2 separate regions of the Homo sapiens genome follow, and region 2 is linked to region 1. The links are contacts of gene promoters, found by promoter capture Hi-C in human tissues and cell types (Jung and others, 2019). All regions are on one chromosome and are shown on one strand. Each heading gives the region's core, a stretch centred on a gene start or on the middle of the fragment in contact. The rest is flanking DNA. Distances are from core to core; before and after follow the strand shown.

Evidence for each region. Contacts are between HindIII fragments. The study calls those that stand out against the background at their distance.
Region 2: a contact is called between a fragment that was not itself captured here and the fragment with the promoter of TEAD2 in region 1, in 1 of the 25 tissues and cell types used here (lymphoblastoid cells).

What each region holds. Positions count from the first base shown.
Region 1 is chr19:49,358,920-49,363,665 of GRCh38, reverse strand. It overlaps TEAD2 (TEA domain transcription factor 2), which reads left to right and starts at 1,250. Exons shown (of 13, transcript NM_001256660.2): 1 at 1,250-1,333; 2 at 3,585-3,822; 3 at 4,167-4,231. The coding sequence starts at 3,591. It also overlaps a transcript of DKKL1 not described here. RefSeq lists enhancers at 1,457-2,165, 2,166-2,875, 3,421-3,921. The HindIII fragment of the contact is 13,886 bases long and covers 1-4,746 here.
Region 2 is chr19:49,029,210-49,033,926 of GRCh38, reverse strand. It overlaps CGB2 (chorionic gonadotropin subunit beta 2), which reads right to left and starts at 2,037. Exons shown (of 3, transcript NM_033378.2): 1 at 1,823-2,037; 2 at 1,256-1,423; 3 at 689-1,020. The coding sequence starts at 1,831. The coding sequence ends at 706. SNAR-G2 (small NF90 (ILF3) associated RNA G2) reads left to right here and starts at 2,140; the gene lies at 2,140-2,258. It also overlaps the pseudogene NTF6G. The HindIII fragment of the contact is 6,350 bases long and covers 1-4,717 here.

The DNA.
Region 1 (4,746 bases), core at 1-2,500:
CCCACGTCAGTTGACCTCAGTCCTGGAGACCAAGTCCTGGAAGTCCTGGCGGTGTTCTCTGATTGCGGCCCTCGTTTCGGAGTCCCGCCCAATCGCAATGGCCACGCCCCTTGGCTGAAAGCCACGCCCCTGCACTGGGCCACGCCCCTGCACTGGACCACGCCCCTGCGTCCCAGATCTTGCCCTCATCACCCCAAGTTCCAGTCCTAGGCTCCTCCTACTGGAGACACCGGAGTACAAGCATCCCTTTTAGCTCTCACTCTAATTGTGTATCTGTTTCGGAACCTTTTCTCCGTGTCCCTTCTGGTTTTCCCGCTCCCGCTCCACTAAAAAGTCCCGTTGTCTCCGGAAACCCTAAATCCAGTCTTATATTTCATCTTCCAAGGAACCCAGAATCAGACTTCCTTTTCCCTGAGGACCTCAGGTCCGGACTCCCGCCCCCTCTAGTCCCGTAATTTTGAACACGCAGCCTTTCACCCTTAAGGGACCGGGCCCTAAGCCATCTTCCCTCAGGCACCAAAGCTCTCTTCCCCGTCCCGGGACAGCCGCCAGCCGTCTCCAGTCCACTAGCGCCTGTAGATGAGGAATCTGCACCTACGTGGGCCTCCAATAAACTCCCGGTGGTCCTGCCCACGACTCTTAACTGTGGTGAGGTCACAAGGAAACCAGGTCGTCATAGGAATCAGTCAAAACCCATCCCCAGACCCCAATCCTCAAAAAAAAAAAAAAACAAAAAAAACAAAAAACAAAAAAACCAAAAACCAAACAGAAAAAAAGAAAAAAAACCTCAGGGCTTAACAGTAAAGACTCTTTGTATTCGTATCACTTCCGCACCCCCAATACACAAACACGAGGGTAGCCGGGATTCCAGGCGCCTAGCCCCGTCCCCTCTCAGACCTAGGAGCCCATATCTCTCTCCAGCCGCTTCCTCTCCCAGACCCAGGAGTCCCAGCCCCCAGACCCAGGAGTCCCAGCCCCCAGCCTCTCCTCCCTCAGATCAGGGGTTTCTGGCTCCTATCAGCCTTTTCCCTCCGACTTGGAGTCCGAACCCCCAATCCCCCTCCTTTCCCAAGCACCCAAATCCTGAGTTCCTACCAGCCCCGAGATAGACTAATCTCTCCCAAAGCAAAAATCCTTCCCCAAACTGTCACCGTCGGATCCCCCTTCCCGCTGTCCGCCGGCCGGGCCCGCCCCCCCCTCCGGTCCCTCCCACTTTTCCCAAACAAAGCTCCCGGCAACTTTCTCCCTCGCAGCGCCCCGCCCGCCCGCGGCTCCCCAGCCCCAGGCCGGGAGGTAGGAAGGCGCCGGCGGGAGTCGGGGATCCTGCTTTGGGGTGTGTGAGTTGGGGTGGGGAGTTGCTTCTTAGGAGGTGAGGCGTGCGTTTGCGGGACCGTCTCTGAATGGTTCGCAGCCCTCTTTTTGCCCGGGGGCCCGAATTTGCTCCCGTGACCGAGCCTCAGTGAGGAGTGGGAACTCTGGCCGGAGTTAGGGTGCCTGCGGCTGGGTCTGAGTTTGGGCGTGCGCGCAGGAGCGGGTGCGGGCCAAGGGCGCTGGCGGGGTGTGGGGCGTGCGTCTGCGGCGGTGTCACTTTGGAGTGAGAAGGACCCCTTGTGTAATCTGGGGGGCATTTGGTCCTTCTTACGGAGAAGGGAGGGCCTCTGGGGTGGCCGAGGGGAGGTTACGGGGCTTTCTGGATCTTAAGTCTTGCCTCTTTGGAGGTTTAGGGTCTGGGGCGGGAAATTAGGGGGACCTTTCTTACCCGGCTCCACCGTCCCTTTGTCTGGCCACATGGGGAAGGGCTGGGCTGGGATTTTGGCCTACGGGGGTCCTGAACGCCGCAGCGCCACTGGGCTTGGCTGGGGTCTTTGTCTGCTATGGTCGGCGGGAGGAGGGGAATAGGGGCCTGGACTCTGGGGTCCTGGGAAAGCTGTGGAGGACATGGAGCCTCCGGGGAGGCGGGATCTGACTGTATTGGAAAAAGTTTTCCCTGTTCCCGGCCTCCGGAAAGTCACTGGGAACTTGAGTTGGATCAGAGCCCACGGCGCACGGGGGAGGGGAGGGGCGGGGCCCGGTGCCGGAGGGGAGTCGCCCTGGCCGGCAAGCCCCTCCCCTGATGGGGGTTGTGGGAAGCTGGGGGAGGGGACGCCTGGGCCCTTTGTTCTGGCTCTTCTGATGGCAGGGCGCCCCTGTCCCCCAGCTTGTGGTTCTGTGGGTCTCTCCTGGTCTCGGCCTCAGCTGCTGCCCTGAGTCTCTGTCCCTGCCCTTTCTAGGTCTCCGTCTCCCTTTCTCTGGGTCTCTGTTGCCCTCTCTCTGAGCCTCTGTCCCCCTCTCTCTGAGTCTGTGTCCCCCTCTCTCTGGGTCTCTGGTCCCCTCTCTCTCTGGGTCTCTGTCCCTCTCTCTCTGGGTCTCTGTCCCCCTCTCTCTGGGTCTCTGTCACCCTCTCTCTCTGGGTCTCTGTCTCCCTCTCTGGGCCTCTGGACCCCTCTCTCTGGTCCCTGTCCCCCCCCCCCGGTCTCTGTCCCCCTCTTTCTGGTCTCTGTCTCCCCCTCTCCCTGGGTCTCTGTCTCCCTCTCTTTTTGGGTCTCTGTCCCTCTCTCTGGGTCTCTGTCCCCCTCTCTGGTCTCTGTCCCCCCCTCCCTCTGGTCTCTGTCCCCCCCTCCCTCTGGTCTCTGTCCCCCTCTCTCTCTGGGTCTCTGTCCCCTCCGTCACTGGTCTCTGTCCCCCCCTTCACTGGGTCTCTGTCCCCTTCTCTCTCTGGTCTCTGTCCCCCTCTGTCTCTGGGTCTCTATCCCCACCTCACTGGTCTCTGTCCCCCTCTCTCTCTGGTCTCTGTCCCCTTCTCTCTCTGGGTCTCTGTCCCCCCCCCTTGCTGGTCTCTGTCCCCATCCCCTCTCTGGGTCTCTGTCCCCCTCCCTCTCTGGGTCTCTGTCCCCCTCTCTCTAGACCTCCCCTCAGTCTTGCTTGGCCCCTCTTCTTTTCTGGCAGCTGCTGCTCACATCTTACCACCTGTTCTTGGGGTGGGACAGGGGAAGTTTCACCCACACCTTCCTTCCCCACCACTAACTTTTGCCTCCTGTCTTCTTTAAAACCCGTAATTCATACCCGAACCTTTAGCCTTCATGGCCCTCGGCATTACTCTAGGGTAATCATTGTGACTTCATCACAATTGAGTTCCTCTGGAAACTCTGAGAACACTCCCATCCTCAGCTTTCCAAGAAATCCAGCTCCTTCTCCTCCCTCAGACTCAGGAGTCCAGACCCCAGCCCCTTCTCCCTCACACCCAGGAGTCCAGGCCTCCAGCCCCCGCTCCCTCAGACCCAGGAGTCCAGGCCCCAGATCCTCCTCCCTCAGTCCTAGGAGTCCGGGCCCCAGCCCCTCCTCCCTCAGACTCAGGAGTTCAGGCCCCAGATCCTCCTCCCTCAGACCCAGGAATACCCCCCAGCTCCTCTTCCCTCAGACCCAGGAGTCCAGGTCCCCAGCCCCTCCTCCCTCAGACCCAGTGGTCCAGAGTCCCAGCCCTCTCAGCTTCAAGTCCCTTGAGGGTGGGGTTTGGGGGAAGCTTGCTGAGTTCTGTGTTCCTCCAGGCCCAGATGGGGGAACCCCGGGCTGGGGCCGCCCTGGACGATGGCAGCGGCTGGACGGGCAGTGAGGAAGGCAGTGAGGAGGGTACCGGCGGCAGTGAGGGGGCTGGGGGTGACGGGGGCCCGGATGCAGAGGGGGTGTGGAGCCCAGACATTGAGCAGAGCTTCCAGGAGGCCCTGGCCATCTATCCACCCTGCGGCCGCCGGAAAATAATTTTGTCTGATGAAGGCAAGATGTATGGTGAGTCTACTTCTGTCTTTTGCCCTGGCCCCCACTGATGAATAATGACAGTAACCAAGGTTTATGGAGCACTCTGAAGTAGGAGCTAGCATCACCATTTGCACAGATGAGGAAACTGAGGCACAGCTAGGTTAAGTGATTTGCTTATGGTCGCACAGAGCCAGTGCGTGATGGAGCTGGGATTTGAACCCAAGCAGTCTGGCTTCCACGTAGCTGAGGGGACCGGCAGCCCACTTGCTGCAGACCTTTGGGGACCCATGCTGCTTTCTTCTTCCCTGGTGTCCATGCTGTGGGGAAGTTCTGTTGAAAGTCTAACTAACTCTGTTCCGTCTTTGAATCTTCAGGTCGGAATGAACTGATCGCCCGCTACATCAAGCTGAGAACGGGGAAGACCCGAACTCGAAAACAGGTCTCGGAATGGACTTGTGGGCTTCTGTCTGGGATGGGCCGGTCTTCTTAGGGTCATCCTCGCATGGGCAGGTTCAGGTTCAAGGAAGAAGCTGCTTCCTGTGCGTTCATCTGTCTTCTCGGCATGTGTGTTAGTCCGTTTGTATTGCTATAAAGAATTACCCGAGGCTGGGTTATTTATGTATTTGTTTATTTTTTGAAATGGAGTCTAGCTCTGTTGCCCAGGCCGGAGTGCAGTGGCGCGATCTTGGCTCACTGCAACCTCTGCCTCCCGGGTTCAAGCAATTCTCCTGTCTCAGCCTCCCGAGTAGCAGGGATTACAGACATGCACTACCATGCCTGGGTAATTTTGTATTTTTAGTAGAGATGGGGTTTCACCATGTTGTCCAGGCTGGTCTCGAACTCCTGACCTCAGGTGATCCACTCACCTCAGCCCCCCAAAGTGCTGGGATTGCTGGGATTACAGGCGTGAGCTACTGTGCCTGGCAAGGCTGGATAATTGATAAAGAGCTTTAG
Region 2 (4,717 bases), core at 1,449-3,948, 330 kb after region 1:
GGACCGGGGGTGGGAGGGGGGGGAGGAGGGGAAGGGAGAGGCAGTGGATGAAGGAGAATGGAAGAGATGACATCCCCCTTGGCCCATTCATCCCATTCAGGTCCCCAAGCCCCCACCTGGACTGCCAGTGCCAACCTCAGAGGGTGGAAGAGGGAGCTCGGCTTAGAATGCTGAGGCCCTGCCCCCTGGGCCACACCAATCGTGTGGCCTTCCTTCTCCCCACGGAAGGCCAGACCATGGACACCTCCTGAGCTGGATGTCATCCCCCATCTCCACCCTCTTTTCTTTTTCTTTCTTTCTTTCTTTTTTTTTTTTTTTTGAGATGGAGTCTCGCTCTGTCGTGCAGGCTGGAGTGCAGTGGCGCGATCTCTGCTCACTGCAACCTCCCGCTCCCAGGTTCACTGCATTCTCCTGCAAGCGCCCGCCACCAAGCCCGGATAACTTTTCGTATTTTTAGTAGAGACGGGGTTTCACCGTGTTAGCCAGGATGGTCTCGATCTCCTGACCTCATGATCCGCCTGCCTCGGCCTCCCAAAGTGGTGGGATTACAGGCGTGAGCCACCACGCCCAGCCGTCCACCCTGTTTTCTACCAGAGTTCTGTACTGTGACTCTGTATAAAATGGTTTGGAAGCTGGACCCACCCTGTGTGTGTGGTTGCCCTGAGCCCACAGAAAGACACCGCCAGAGTGCGGATTGAGAAGCCTTTATTGTGGGAGGATCGGGGTGTCTGAGGGCCCCGGGAGTCGGGATGGGCTTGGAAGGCTGGGGGGAGGGGCCTTTGAGGAAGAGGAGGCCTGGAAGCGGGGGTCATCACAGGTCAAGGGGTGGTCCTTGGGACCCCCGCAGTCAGTGGTGCTGCGGCGGCAGAGTGCACATTGACAGCTGAGAGCCACGGCGTAGGAGACCACGGGGTTCACGCCGCGCGGGCAGCCAGGGAGCCGGATGGACTCGAAGCGCACATCGCGGTAGTTGCACACCACCTGAGGCAGGGCCGGCAGGACCCCCTGCAGCACGCGGGTCTGGAAGCCGTGTGAGTGGGAGAATGAGCATGTGCCTGGGGCCAGCGCCTCAGCTGAGCTCCCCAGCTGCCCCCACAGGTCTCAGACTCAGGGGTCCAGGAAGCCCTCTGTTCCTGCCCTCCCACACCCCATTCCGCAGCCCCTGACCAGAGAGGCAGACCACCCTTCCTCCCCCGCTGCCTCTGTGGGTCTGGCCCTGAGGTGGCAGCACCTGCCCCGGCCCCGGGCAGCTCACCATGGTGGGGCAGTAGCCGGCACAGATGGTGGTGTTGACGGTGATGCACACGGGGCAGCCCTCCTTCTCCACAGCCAGGGTGGCATTGATGGGGCGGCACCGTGGCCGAAGCGGCTCCTTGGATGCCCATGTCCCGCCCATGCTCAGCAGCAGCAACAGCAGCAGCCCCTGGGACAAGGACACTGCTTCACCCGGGTCTGAGACCGCAGCCCCGAGTCCTGGCCTTCCCATCCCGCGTGGTACACCACCCACAAAGACCCAGAGACCCTTCGTGGCATCTCCTATTCAGGACCCACCACCCGGACACCTGCCTTTCAGAGCCCACCCCACAGCCCAGAGGATCTCAGATACCCCAACATTTTAGATCCCCACCCTCAGGAACTGCCCCACCTGAAGCTTACTGGGGGTCACGCTCCTCCAGAAAGAGGCCTCCTTCCACAGCTCACACTGGTCTGCCCCTTCTCATGCCAGTGATGGCCTGGAAGCAGGTGGAAGGTGCCCAGGGGCCCTGCAGTCTTTCCTGGAACATCTCCATCTTTGGTGCCTGGAAATGTCGATCTACCCTACCTTTGACATGTCTCTCTCTTAGCGGGATATCTTCCGCAAGCACTGGGGATGTGGACATGGAAAGTAAATTGAGTCTCCGTGGGGGAGTGAGACAGGGAGTGAGGGGTGTTGGACGCGGCACGGGAACCCGGCCGGAGTCAGCGGACCCAATTGGCTGCTCTCTCTCAGATACAGTTCCCCTTCCTCCCTCCAGGGGGCGCCACGGAACGCAGGGCCCTCACTGGCCCTGGGGACTGGGTGACGTCAGGGGTGAGCCTCTCCTGATTGGCTCCATCACCCTGCGTAAGGTCAAAAGGAAGAAAGGAGATCCCCGACACCCCGAGCTATTGTGGCTCCGACCGGTTGCGCGTGCCCTCGGGCCCTCAGGGAGGGGAGGGTTCGAGGGTACGAGTTCGAGGCCAACCGGGTCCACATTGGTTGAGAAAAAAATTTTTTTATCGTTCCCTATATAATAACAAAACATAAAGGGAGGACGCCTTGATAGGAAGAAATGACATCTTCCTAAGTGTTTTTAAATTACTTCAATGTATCTTTTTTTTTTTTGGGAGACCGAGGCTTGCTCGGTCCTCGGGGGACCTCCCTGCCTGTCAGCCATGGCGGTCGTCACCTGTGGTAAACAGAATGGCGGGAGCAAGTGGGATGTCCCACTACTCGGGCTGAGGCAGGAGAATCACAGGAACCTAGGAGGTGGAACCTCCTCGCCCAGGAGGGGCGCGGCTTCGGACTTAGTTTCTGCCCAATGAGAGAGGGCCTCCCCGTGACTGTGCTGCCAGGTTAGCCACTTGACCCTGGTGCCGCCAACGAGGGATTCAGCCCGAGCCCCACCTCTCCCTTAGGGACCTCTGCCCACTCTACCCTCAAGCCAGGATGCCCGGAGCGGTCCCCGGAAATGCGTGTGCTTCAGGTGATTTAACTGATTATTGAATAGGCCCGCAGGAGGTGTGTCCTGCCCCCGAGGCCTCAGCCTCAGAGGACATTATCTGGACTTAGTCCCTTCCCCGCGATGCCATCAAGCTGGACAATTTTAAGGTCTGTTTCTTTCCCAGTGTAGGGTATAGGTTGGCACAGGGAAGAGGGCTAGAAACCTGACTTGAGCTCCCCGCCCAGGGCTGAACTCTCCAGCATCCTGATCACTTCTCATTGAACCTTGCTTATACTCCCCGTGTGATCGGTAGCTCTTTATCTCAAAACAAAATATTCTAAGCCGACCCCTGCCCACTCTCACCAAGTAAGATTTCTCATTTGAACCCCAGCTCCCAGATACTTAAAGGCCTTCTGTAGACCATGTCCTCAAGGTCCCCTGGCCATCTGCTTGCATGTTCCAGTTTCCCTCCTCCCCCATGCACATCGTGAAATGTGCCCTCCCACTCCCCAGGATGAGCAAGGTGGTGTCCTCTGTGACTGAGCAGTCAGCAACTTAACACCAAAGGTCACCAATGATCAAATCCATGAGAGTTGATCCGAGGAGTTATGTATTAGGGCTACGAAAGAGTAAACACTCAGTAAATAGTGGCTATTATTATTATCATCATCATCATGATTACCCTCAAGTTCCCCTGGGAGAGCTCCTATTCAACCTTCAAAACCCCACGTTGTTGCACCCATCCTACAGAGATTGAGCTCAAATTCAGAGAGTTGTGATTTTGCGATGATTTGATGAGTTCCCCAACTGGGGTCCGTCCGTAGAGCAGCTGGGCCAACCCTGAGGTCTCTCAGCATCCAGCTCTGTTCTTTTTCTGCCTGACCAGTTCCTGGGTATAAGTCTCAGGCCCGGCCAGTCCGGCTGAGGAGTGTGCAGACACAGGCTGTGCCAGTTTGAATCCATCGCCAGTCCACACGGCCCTGGGCATCAGCGGTCAATGCCCGCACATAGGACTGCTTGGCCTTGCACTCAGACACCCAGTGCCCCCCGGTCCACACCCCAGCGGCAGCCCCTCCACCTACCCCTGGGCCACCTTCTTCAGAGTTATCGGCCTTGAAGCAGGTGACAAAGAAGTGTTGGTGGAGGGAACTGCTGCCAGCTGCAGGCACCTCACCCAACACCTCCACCTCGAGCACAACCAAGTCCACAGCGGTCCGGGGGTCTGTCACCCAGACACTGACTGCATCGCACACGGCCAGCTCACCCTGATGACTCGCCGGTGAAGTATCGCTCACCCCTCGCTGGCTGCGGTTGGCCCGGGTGCCTGCTGACTCCCAAAAGGCCCCAGTCTCCAGCAGGAAGACCAGAGGGGGCCCGGCAGCGGCACCCCTAGACAGGACCACTTGGGGGAAAATAAGGTCCCACTCTGGAGGAGGAAAAGGGGACAATGTCAAGGGTGGGGGTTAGGACTCCATTGACACACTGGGGAGGAAGCAAATGAGGGGGATGCAGAGGGAGCCTGGGGGAGCGGGAGCATCTCTCAGAGGACATGGAAACAGGGAAAAGGAGGCTGGGATTAGAGAAGAGGATAAACACTTCAGTGAGGTCAGAAGTTGGGAACCCCAGGGGAGGCCTGCCTGCCAGGATTATGGGGAAGCCCTTGCTCTAGAAGTTTGGGGGACTCCATGTATGGGACTTGCATCACACCCAACTTGTAGATTAATAATAAATATTCAACAACTACAGGTCAGGCACTATGGCTCACACCTGTGGTCCCAGCACTTTGGGAGGCTGAGGCGGGTGTTTGACTTGAGGTCAGGAGTTCAAAAGCAGCCTGGCCAACACTGTGAAACAACATCTCTACTGTTAATACCAAAATTAGCTGGGCGTGGTGCTGCGCTCCTGTAATCCCACCACTTTGGGAGGCCCAGGCGGGCGGATCATGTGGTCAGGGGATCGAGACCTTCCTGGCTAACACGGTGAAACCCCGTCTCTACTAAAAATACAAAAACTTATCTGGGCTTGGTCGCGGG